Regions from separate parts of the Homo sapiens genome. Here region 2 is linked to region 1. Evidence: promoter capture Hi-C in human tissues and cell types (Jung and others, 2019). All regions are on one chromosome and are shown on one strand. The core of a region is centred on a gene start or on the middle of the fragment in contact, and the rest is flanking DNA. Distances in the headings are between cores, read along the strand shown.

Region 1 (5,810 bases), core at 2,828-5,327:
GTCATGTCATGCTGCCCCAGGGATGTCCCCTGCCCCTGACCCTCCGCTGGCTCTTATTCCATCCCTGTTATGTTATTTGCTTCTTTGCTCTTGTCTCCCCTTCTGGTCTTCTCTGCACGCTCTTTCCCCCTGTGTCACATCTTTCTGTTCTTTCCCGTCTTTGGAGTACATTCAGATGAATTTATGCTCAGGGTGGGGAATGAGGCGGGTGCGGGTGAGAATTGGGCTCTGGCATAGCATTCTATTATGTAACCACAGACCACATCCCCCACTGCAGCCAAATGGTTTGCAGAAGCAAGCTTTTGGTCGCAAGGGACATAAGACAAGACATTTTGAAGGAACAGTGGAAACCCACTATCCACTCTGGGCTTTAAGGGTGATAACAGAGTCTTTGTTCGATTTGAGGTTCCTGAGGTTTGGATTTCACGAACGCTGGGTTCAGAGGTCATACTGTGGGTTACAGAGAATGTCAAGATCAGAGTCAGAGTTACCATCAGCATCAGAATTTGTATCAGTGAGGAAACTGAAACCTAATTTGGACCAGGGTTGGGGTTAGTTAGGTTAAGAACTACAGTTAGGATTTGGGCTTGAGTTAAATTAGTTGATAAATTAACAATTTTGTATTGATATTTGGGTAAGGAATAGGAATAGACTTAAGATGACATTCGGGGTTGAGGAATGTGTCAGGATGAGAAAAAGATGAATAATCCCTGTTTTGTTTGGGGGCTTGGTTCTGGTTATGATTCAATACAGGTGTAGTATCTTAATTTAAGCCTGGAGTGGGTTAGAGCTTAAATATTAGAGGTTGGGTTTGGTTACCAGTCCCTAGTATTGGATTCTGGGATTAAGGTTGATACTTTGTCTAATGAGGGACAGCATAGCAGAGAGGTCAAGAACCTAGACTCTGGCGCCAAACTGCTTGAGGCTGGAATTCTGGTTCTACTGCTTTCTAGCTATGTGATCTTGGGCAAGTTATTTGAACTTCTGTGCGTTGGTTTTCGTATCTGTAAAAGTGGGATGATAATGGAGCCTATCTCATAGAATATTTGTAAGAATTAAATGAGTTAATATATGTAAAGCACTTAGGACAGCAAGTGACACATAGTAGTACCATAGAAGTATTTGTTAGGTGAATAAACGGTGGCAATATTTCATGCCCATCTTCCAAGTGACAAGTGTTCAGACTGGCTGGAGCAGTCTTCCCTGTGTTGTGGCCCCGTCGACACACTTAATCTAGCTGACACTCTCCCAGGGTTTCAACAGGGCCATCCCTTGGGCTGGGTTGTCAGCACATCTGTGTTGCTGGTTTCCTGGCTGACTTCATCACTACAGGTCTGTATTCTTTACATCAGAGAGGCATTGGGTCAAGGTTAACCCGGGTCCTCAGACAACTTCACATTGTCAGGCCTCCAAGGTGGGCAGGAAGGCAGGTTTCCAGTCCCTAAAAGAGACCAGGCCCAAGGCCACTTGTTCCTTCAAGCCGGCAGGAACTCCTCTTGAATGTTAAATGATGCTCCCTTGGAGCCTGAATGCAAAGACCTTAAGGAGAAATTTTCAGCCCATCAGCTCCCTGCTCAGTCAGCCTGGCAGTACACCCAGAATCCAAAGGGAGAGAATTCAGGCAAATCAGGGCAATGTTTTTAATGGGCCAAATCAGCAGAGTCCAGGGAAAGAATTCACTTCATTCCAGCAGCTGGCACCAGTTGAGAAGGGTTGCAAGCGAGCAGTCAGCTGGACGTGCAGGAGAGCACCCCCGCCGGCCCAAGCTGAGTGGGCTTTTTCATCTCTGCTCAAGAACTTTGTCTCCAGCAAGAGCCCCATGCCAGCACTTTCTCACATTTCTCTGTGCACTTAGTCTGCTTCAAGGTGACCTTGGGATTTGACAGTGGAGTGCAGGGGTGGGAGGAACTTTTCCTCATAGGCACTTTGCTGTGACATTCTGGGGACACTCTGATGAGTAACTAGTCACCCTAACAACTCACTCCAGCATCCCCACACTGCACCATTAACACCAACACTCTGAGTAAGCCTTGCTCCCCAAGCCAGGTGCCTGAATCACTGCTGTAGTAACCTGTGCCTCTTGTTCCTCTGCCTCACCTCTCTGACTCTCTGCCTTTCTTCATCTGAGCCTTTCCTCTCTCGGGTTCAGATTCTCCCTCCATTCCCCCAAGAAATGCTCAATTTCTCTGCACTTTCTAAGACTTCAATATGCCAGAACAGCCACTCCCTATCCATACTGGCCATCAAGGAAGCTTGGTCCCAAGCCTGGGTGGACACAGTGTCCCTGTACACTGGTGCTCAGCCCCTCTGATGACTGGGACATCCTACACATCTGTACCGTTAGAAGGCCCCAGATGCTGTTTCCATGGAGACCTAGTCAACCAAGAAGCCTCACCCCTTGGACTAGCTTCCTGCCTCCATTCACAACCAAAAAAATCAACCAAGGTTCTCCACAGACATCCAGCTCATAAAGGAGGACCTGAGGCTGTCAGTGATTCCCCATGTGATTCATATTCTTGCCTCTCAGTTCTGAGATGTTGGGATAGTATCAACAAGTGCAGAGCCTCTTCCCTGCCACCTTAGGAAGCCTCATACACTTGACCTCACTTCCCCATCGATCCCACAGCCAAAGCAGATACTGCCCTCCGACCTAGCAGCAAGAGCTCCACCTGCACTTCTAAAGCCACTGCTACCTCTGCCCCCCAGGGACCAAATATCCAGAGTTGCTCTCCTTCCCTAAGGCTGGAATATGCCAAGCCCGCTGGCCACCCCTACACATTAAGCCCCCAAGTTCCACCTTCCTCCCAACCAACAGGGCTGAGGCTGGTGGCTCCCAGGCCCACCCTCATGCTCTCCCACTGCCTCTCCACCCACTAGGGCCCAGGCAGAGCTGGTTTCTGGTAAGATGCACTATCTCATCCATGGTTGGGAGGCACAACTTCCTCTTCCAGGGGTTTTCCACTTAGAAATCCCATAAGGGTCTCCTTTCCACAACCCAGTTGGAAATGACCCCAAGCGGAAGTTTCTCCCAAGAAAATTTATAGTCATAATCATAGCGAATTTCCAGTTCACTGAGATCTCACTTTGCACCAGGTGCTTCTCATACATTATTTCATTTAATCCTTTCCACAGTCCTACACAGGAGCAACCCAGTGGAAGGATTCTTTCTCCTGTGGGCAGAGGAGGATTCTCCCCACACTCCTCAGCTCAGCCCCTCCCTTGGCACTCCTTCCCACCCACCCACTAGCTACCAATTAACCCATCAGCACCAGCATTTTGCACAGTTACTAAACAGGAACATGGTCCTGTTCCTCTGCCAGTCCCATCCCCTGGACCTCTCATAACTGTGGGCCAGGTCCCTTCTGTATTCTTCAATTCTCCTAACACTGCAACAGAGATCCATTCCTCTGACCCCTGTACAGCCCCAGATAGGACGAGGCCCACCTCCTGGTCAAAGGTCCTTTCAGTTTCCTCCTAAGCCTGCCCACCTCCTAAGGCTCTACCCAAAGTAACATCACACCCTAAACAACCTCACCTGTCACCAGGCAGTGGAAGGAGTGACCAAGGGCAGCCAGGCCACTCAGACCCCATGGACACCAGCCCTAGCTTTATTCCTTACAGTGGCCCCAGACAACAAAATCTTGGGGAGATCAAAAGTCAGGCTGGACTAAGGGATATTTGGGGCTGATCCTCCAAGGTGTCAAGAAGGGAATTCCATGAAATCAGACCATCAGCCCTGCAACTCTCTCCACATAGTCCAGTCCATTCCGGGACCAACGCCTGCACCCTCAGACAAGGACAACCCAAAAGTGCTCTGCGGCTTTAGGACAGAGCTCACCCTCCCTTGTCCCACGGCCCTGCCCTCTACCAAGTTCTCCAACTCTCTGCTTCTTTAGGCAAGATCCCGCCCCACCAGCAATCCCATGCCCGCCAGATAGTGACTTACCAGCCCAGGCCAGGCCACACAGCACGGCCAATACCAGGGAGATGCAGGCCCTCATGGTGCCCAGTTGGAGGCCAAAAAGGGAGTGGCTGTTGGACTTTCACTAGAGTCAGATGAATGTCACAGCTCTCAGACGAGCCTTATTCCTCAAGCTGATCCTTTTAAAGACACCAGGACTTGTGGAGCTGGTGTCTCCAGATCCTTTCAGGAAGAAAAAGGGGAGGGAGGGACCCTAGATGGATAGGAGGTGGGGCCCTACAGCTGTTTGAAGCCTGAGGGAAGGTGACTAAGAAGGTAGGTAATGCCAGATGTTGAGAACAGGTAATGCTAGCTGTTTGCAGCTTAAAAAATAGGTCATGCAGGCAGGCACACCAAGATGGGTCCAGTTTGGAGGGTTCTTTGTCCAAATTAGGGACACCCATGGGCTGATCTTTGGGTGATCCCCACCAAACAGACACCTACTTCCAAGTCTCAGACCTGACTTTCCAAGGGGCCACAGGTTGGATTCATCTTCAAATTCCTGGAGCTTAGCATGACACTGGCACACAGTAAGGTGATTGGTCCAAATTTGACAAACAGTAAGTGCCCAAGCAAGGGTTGGGGTCATTGGACAGAGAGATAGAGGATGTGTCGGTCAGAACCAGTGCTATTCTTATGACCACCAAGCCCAGCATAGCTAAATCAGCCACATGTCGAGCGCATGGCTAAATCACTCTAAAATATTATGCAAATGACTCTTACTGAGTCAGCCTCTGGGGTTTAAACGTTTCAGATTCCTTATGAGGCAGGGGAGGGGCAAGAGGCCTCTTAAAGGCAGCCGAAGGCCCACTCTTCTTCCCCTGGGAGCCCAGGGTTTCACTCCCTTCACCCCAACTTACACTCCTCTCCTCAGGAACTCCTCCCCAGTGAGGTTCTTTTGTTTCCAAGTCCAAAAGAAGGGGAGCAGCTCCCCGTGACTGTCCAGTTTTCCCCGATAATAAAGGTAAAATCTGCCAAGTATGATGCCCTTGCCAGAAAGAGCACTGCATGGGGATTCTCAACCCTCTCAGGAAAGAAAACTATCATATAAAAAGGCAAAATTGGTGAACAGTGGAGGCCACTCTATCAGTGATTTTTTTCTGGAGGTTGGGAGTGGAGCACGTCTTCATCCAGTGTGCTTTAACAGGAGAAGTTTCTTCCTCTCGCTGGTCTTCAGCTTTCTCATCTGAAATGATGGGGTTGGATCTGACAATCCCTTCCAGGTTCTCAGACTTTAATCTCGAGTTTTCCTGCCCATGCGCCAGGTTGAACAGTTGCTGGTGGGTTAAAGAGAATCCCCCAGCCTGTTGCTGTGTAGAGAGGAGTCCAAACATAGGGACTCAGGGGTAGAGAGAAGGACAAGCCTAGGGCAAGCAAACTTTGCAAGGGGCTCACACAGGAAGTGCAATGTATGTATATATTTTGAGATGGAATCTCTCTCTCTGTCGCCCAGGCTGGAGTGCAGCAGTGTGATCTCGGCTCACTGCAACCTCCATCTCCCCAGCTCAAGCAATTCTCATGCCTCAGCCTCCCGAGTAGCTGGGATTATAGGCATGCACCACCACACCTGGCTAATTTTTGTATTTTTAGTAGAGACCATGTTGGCCAACCTGATCTCAAACTCTTGACCTCAGGTGATCTGCCCACCTTGGCCTCCCAAAGTGCTGGGATTACAGGTGTGAGCCACTGCATCCAGCCCGGAAGCACAACTAAAGAGTGAGCCTAGCCCTTCTCTCCCAGAAGGGAGCTGGTTAGAATGAGTAAGAGCAGAAATGGCTGCTTCATTTGCATAGATTTCATTTACACAATCCAAAAGCAGGCTGAAGAGTCACTGCCCCTCAGAATCCTC
Region 2 (5,234 bases), core at 223-2,722, 84 kb after region 1:
GAAGACCTGGCAGAACCTGAGGCCGGGGAGCTGGGCCATTCTGAGTTGCGTATGGCTGTCGGTTTCTGGGTCTGGCACTCTCTGGAGACCCTTGCTGTCCTCTGACAGAGAAAAACAGGGGTCCTCCCAGCCCTGTCCAACTCCCGGGACCTCTCGGGCCACCACTCAGCCTTCCCTGCAAGTCCATTGTGAAGGGGAGGGCATAGCTACTTCCTGCGGTGGCAGGCCTGGAGGGCCTGCATCTACTTCCTATTACCCATGGCCTTCAGCTTATAGCCTGGCCTGCCCCTGCACTGCTCTGCCCACTTAGGGAATTCCTGAGCCAGTGGGCTCCCCTAGTCCACACTACCCTAAGATTTCTCAGTTCCAAAAAGCCCTCAAAGACATAAGTTCCACATTCATCCTCACTCCTCTGCTCCAGTATCTCCAGTCCCTGAGATAGGAAGTTCACCATGATGTCTAACTACCATCTTTCCTATCATAAGCAAAACATCCTGAGCAGGCAAGATTTGAGGCCCTATCTGTAACATGGGGATAAGTCGGCCAGTTTCTGCCTTCATCTCTCCCCTTCGCCTTTACCCCTCTGGTGCCCCACTTAGACCAGTTGCTCCTTTAGCAGCCAGTGTGAGCCAGTCTTTCTCAAGGGCCAGTGTTTGCCCCAACAGGAAGCACAGTCACCGCCCCAGGCTGCCTCTAGGGGCGGCTCCTTCTCCCCTCTGAGGTGTCACACTCATTCCCTTGCTCTCCTTGTCACCCCAGCTCCTGGGCCCTCCTCATGCAGACCCTGCCCCTCTGTGTACCCTACTCCTGCTTTGCCCACTGGTTCTGCCTCTCCCAGCTGCAGGCCGAGCGAGATGTGCCTTCCTCACTCTTCTCACCTGTGCCACCCACAAGGCCACGCAGCCCATTCCCAAGACTGCCAGGGAAATGTTTAAGTTACAATATCAACAATAGTTATATTATTTTAATTAATTAATAATATTAATAATGATCAACAATCATGTGTTAATGCTTACTGTGTGCTGGCTATTATCCTAGGCATTTTTGGCGGGGGGAGGGCAACATCCTCCCACTAAGCGATTTTTATTTATTTATTTATTTTGAGATGGAGTCCCACTCTGTCACCCAGGCTGGAGTACAGTGGCACGATCTTGGCTCACTTCAACCTCTGCCTCCCGGGTTCAAGTGATTCTCCTGCCTCAGCCTCCTAAGTAGCTGGGATTACAGGCGTGCGCCAACATGCCTGGCTAATTTTTGTATATTTAGTAGAGACGGGGTTTCACCCTGTTGATTAGTCTGGTCTCGAACTCCCAGCCTCAAGTGATCCGCCCACCTCTGCCTCCCAAAGTACTGGGATTACAGGCCTGAGCCACCACACCAGGCCCCCACTAAACATTTTAATTGTACTATTGCAAGTAGTCCTCACAACTCTGTAAGGCAGATACTGTTTTTTTGTTTGTTTGTTTTGTTTTGTTTTTGAGACAGAATTTCACTCTGTCACCCAGACTGGAGTGCAGTGGCACAATCTCAGCTGACTGCAACCTCTGCCTCCCGGATTCAAGTGATTCTCCTGCCTCAGCCTCCCAAGTAGCTGGGATTACAGGTGCAAGCCACCATGCCCAGCTAATTTTTGTATTTTGGTAGAGACGGTGTTTCACTATGTTGGCCAGGCTGGTCTCAAACTCCTGAACTCACTGAATCCACCCACCCTGGCCTCCCAAAGTGCTGGGATTACAGGCGTGAACCACTGCGCCCGGCCTATATACTGTTATTATTCTCATTTTGCAAATGAGGAAACTAAGGCTAAGAGAGGTTCAGAAACTTGCTGAGGTCACACAGATGGTATGTGGAGCTGCTGGGACTCCAGAACCTAAGCTTAGCATCGGTACACTGGCGTGGACTGCTTACTCAGCCTGCCTCCTAGTAGTGGCTGAGGTGAGACCACCAAGGGGACAAGGGGATGCAAGACACAGTGAGGCCCTAGGGTATGCTCCCAATGCCAGCCTGTTCCCACAAAGTGTGCTGTGTTCCACCCCTGCCATCCTCAATTCCTTTTTCATCTTCTATTTCCCTTCCTTTTTAAATGTACATTTTACCATTTTAAAGTGTACCATTTAAACACTTTACAGTGTTTCCTGTTAGCTGCCTCCAGCAGGGTATAACTAAACAAGCAAACCTCCCAGGGCTGCCACAGAGGATCAAACGCTGCGTGAGCTCTCTGGAAACTGTCAAGCCCTCTACAAAATGCGGGTTGCATAACCAGAGCAAGTCACCCTCAGAGTGGGTACTCGGGGGTAAATTCTCTTGGGAGGAAAAGGTCTCTCTCTCTCTCTCTCTCTCTCTCTCTCTCTCTCTCTCTCTATCTCTATCTCTGTCTCTCACTCACGGGCAGGCCTTGGGCAGGTGGAAGCGCTGGAAGCACCCACAAGTGCAAAAGGGAGCACCTACCTTCAGGGCCACTTTCTGGGGACTAGGAACACAGCCGCACGGCTATCAGCATCCCTGGATCTGGGGCAGAGGAAGGCAGAAGCCACAATGGAGACCCTGGTCTGCACTCAGTAAGAACCAGGCAAACCGAACTGAGGCATCTCGGATGTGAATAGCCACAAGCTGTGAATCCTGACACTCACAGGGATGCCACATTAACATTAATGACAGTAAATACCCTAGAGGTCCCATCCCAGTGGTGCCCTAGAATCCCCCTCCTTTTGCCTATTACTTTGGAAGACAGCAGAAGTCTAGTGGGCAGATTCTCCACGTGACCTGATTCCCTTTTGCAGCCAGGCTGCCCTTGAGACTTGGTTGAAGGGGTTTTTCCAGATCACAAATCCAGCTAGGGTGCTTACACTGCCTTCAGGTCACTCAACAGACAGATGGCATGGTCCTGGGTACTGATTTGGACAAACCAGCTGTAAGGACAATTTCTGGCCAACTGGGAATTCCGTTAAGATGAAAATTTACTGTAATGGAAGGTGGAAATCACTGACTGAAAAAACAGTATATGCAGAGTAATCTCATTTTCATAAAAATTACAACACATAAAGACACATACGGAAATGGAAAGATGTGCAGTGATCTCTGACTGATGCGTCTGTGATGTTTTTTATTTTTTAGTTTTTGCTGGTCTGTCCTGTCTGAGTATCCACAATGCACATGGACTGCCTCTGTAATAATTACGCAGCATATATACGTACATAGACACAGCCCATGGTAGCAAAGTCAAAGTGTGACCTCGGGCTCCCGTGAGCATTAGTCCACAGGGTTTTCACCGCCCCCGGGTCTTCTTGGACCATATATCCTCTGAGGTTCCGTGTTATCTACAACCTAGCGTCCTCTGCCCCTCCTGAGTCTCGCCAAGGGCCTATAACACAGAGCTGGGCACAAAGTCAGGACTTACTTAATGAATGCCTTCTGGCTGAATAATGATCATTTCCTGAAAGAAATGCCTCATGCCTCTTCCAGAGCCGCTGTGCTGGGAATACTCACTGCTGACATCACTGACCTGCCCACCCCTCCTCTGTTCTTCATAAGAGCAACAAGGGAAGGGCTAAAATAAAGTTCACCCCAGCAGATGCTGGCAAGGTACTCCACATCAGGGCCATCAGGGGCAGCCCCATCCCAGACCCTCCCCAAGCTGGCACAGCAGCCCCTCTCCAGGGCCAGCTGGCTTCAAGGCCCTGGGGTCCCTCCTCGCCCTGCCTCACTGGGAGAGGCTGGGAGAGGGAGTGAACAAGAGAAGCAGGGGTCCACCCTATGACTTCTGGCTACAGCTCTCTGGCTGTTCCAGGCCGCGATGGGTGGAGGAATCTGGAACAGGGATTTGGCCTGGTTTTTTCTGTGAACTGGGGCTAGGCCCAGTTTCTGTTCTTCGTGTCTGCAACATTCCCTATCCCTGACCTTCAAAAAATATGAACAATAACATTAATAATGATGATGAATATTCAGTGAGCCCTGACTTCATACCAGGCACAGAGCTAACTTTATTTACATTATCTCCTTTAATCTTCATAGCAACTCCATAAAGTTGAAACTGTAATTATTTTCACATTACAGATGAAGAAGTGGAGGCACAGAGCAAAATGTGCCCATAATCACACTTGCAGGAGAAACCGAGACTCAGCCAAGGCCATCCCATTCCTCCCTCTGCGTCCTTACAGGAAGCTCTCCTGCCAGGCTTTGCCATATATACAGTAGGGTCTAAGGCGATAATTAACATCTGTAGAGTGCTTTAAGCACTAAGTGGGGCACAGAGAAAAGCCCCACTTGAAACTAGGAAATCGAGTCTCAGAGCCATCAGCATCCTTACTCAAGATCCCACACCTTTCGACTAAGATTCAAACCCAGATCTCTGGCGTCAGAATGGCACATTTCTTCCCTATTATCACACGATGCCCCTGGCTCACTCTCAAGGCGGCCCCGGCTGCCTGGAAGGGAGAGTCACACCTCCTTCAGCGCTGGAATCTGGGGGGCGAGGCCTGCGCTCAGCCCCTCGCCCGGTGGGGGTGGGGTGCTGCGCCAGCACCTCCTCAGCGTCTCCGCCGTGACTCACTCCCGGGACCCAGGGGAAGCACAGCCCTGCGCTGCGGGCAAACATCGTCCGCCGCCCGCCCCGCCTCCAGCTCCCCGCCTCCACATTTGCTAACCGAAACAAGGCTGCTGCTATTTTTAACCCTCCAGCTCCCCCTTGCCTGGGGCTCCCCCCTTCACCTCCCCACCCCCCGCCCCAGCCGGGTGCCACCAGCCTGTCATTCTGAGAGCAGTTCTATAACCTGAACGCGCCTGGGAGGGCGCAGCGGACGTCCCGGACGTGCAGGTTTGTGGGGCAAGCAAAACAAGACGGTTACAGCCCAATCGCCGAATTCCCCCACCCCAGACTCTTTCCGAACCTGTCACTCCCAGACTGCCCTGCTCCTCCTGCCATTCTGGGGGTTGGGGTAGAGGGGAATGGGACTTCTGGGCTGGGGTCACCTCAGGAGCCAGAGCTAGGCTCCTTGGAATGGGTCCTGCAGGGAGGAAGCTGAACTGAAGGGGATTGGAGTTCCCCTACGGATCCCCAGGGTGAGAGGCTGACCCTATAGGCCCAAAGCTTCTGACCACCAGGGTTTACAATCCCTGCAGGCAAGATGGAGGAAAAAGGAAGTGGTGCGGAGACAGGGTGGGGATGGTGAGCTTAGCCCAGGGCCTTCCTGACGAGGAGAAGTCCCCTCCCCATCCTGCTGTGGGGGCTGTGGAGC

The links. The method cuts DNA at HindIII sites, captures the fragments that hold promoters and counts their contacts. A contact is called where the count stands out against the background at its distance.
Region 2: a fragment that was not itself captured here is called in contact with the fragment with the promoter of ENDOU in region 1 in 2 of the 25 tissues and cell types used here (IMR-90 fibroblasts and aorta).

Annotation. Positions count from the first base shown.
Region 1 is chr12:47,721,413-47,727,222 of GRCh38, forward strand. It overlaps ENDOU (endonuclease, poly(U) specific), which reads right to left and starts at 4,078. Exons shown (of 10, transcript NM_001172439.2): 1 at 3,947-4,078. The coding sequence starts at 4,001. The region is part of intron 3 of RPAP3-DT (RPAP3 divergent transcript); the gene reads left to right. RefSeq lists silencers at 4,593-4,712, 5,678-5,737. The HindIII fragment of the contact is 12,082 bases long and covers 1,276-5,810 here.
Region 2 is chr12:47,808,487-47,813,720 of GRCh38, forward strand. The region is part of intron 1 of HDAC7 (histone deacetylase 7); the gene reads right to left. Among named protein-coding and RNA genes, the nearest start is that of HDAC7, 8.8 kb to the right of the region's middle. RefSeq lists an enhancer at 446-515 and a silencer at 4,536-4,725. The HindIII fragment of the contact is 4,015 bases long and covers 1-3,480 here.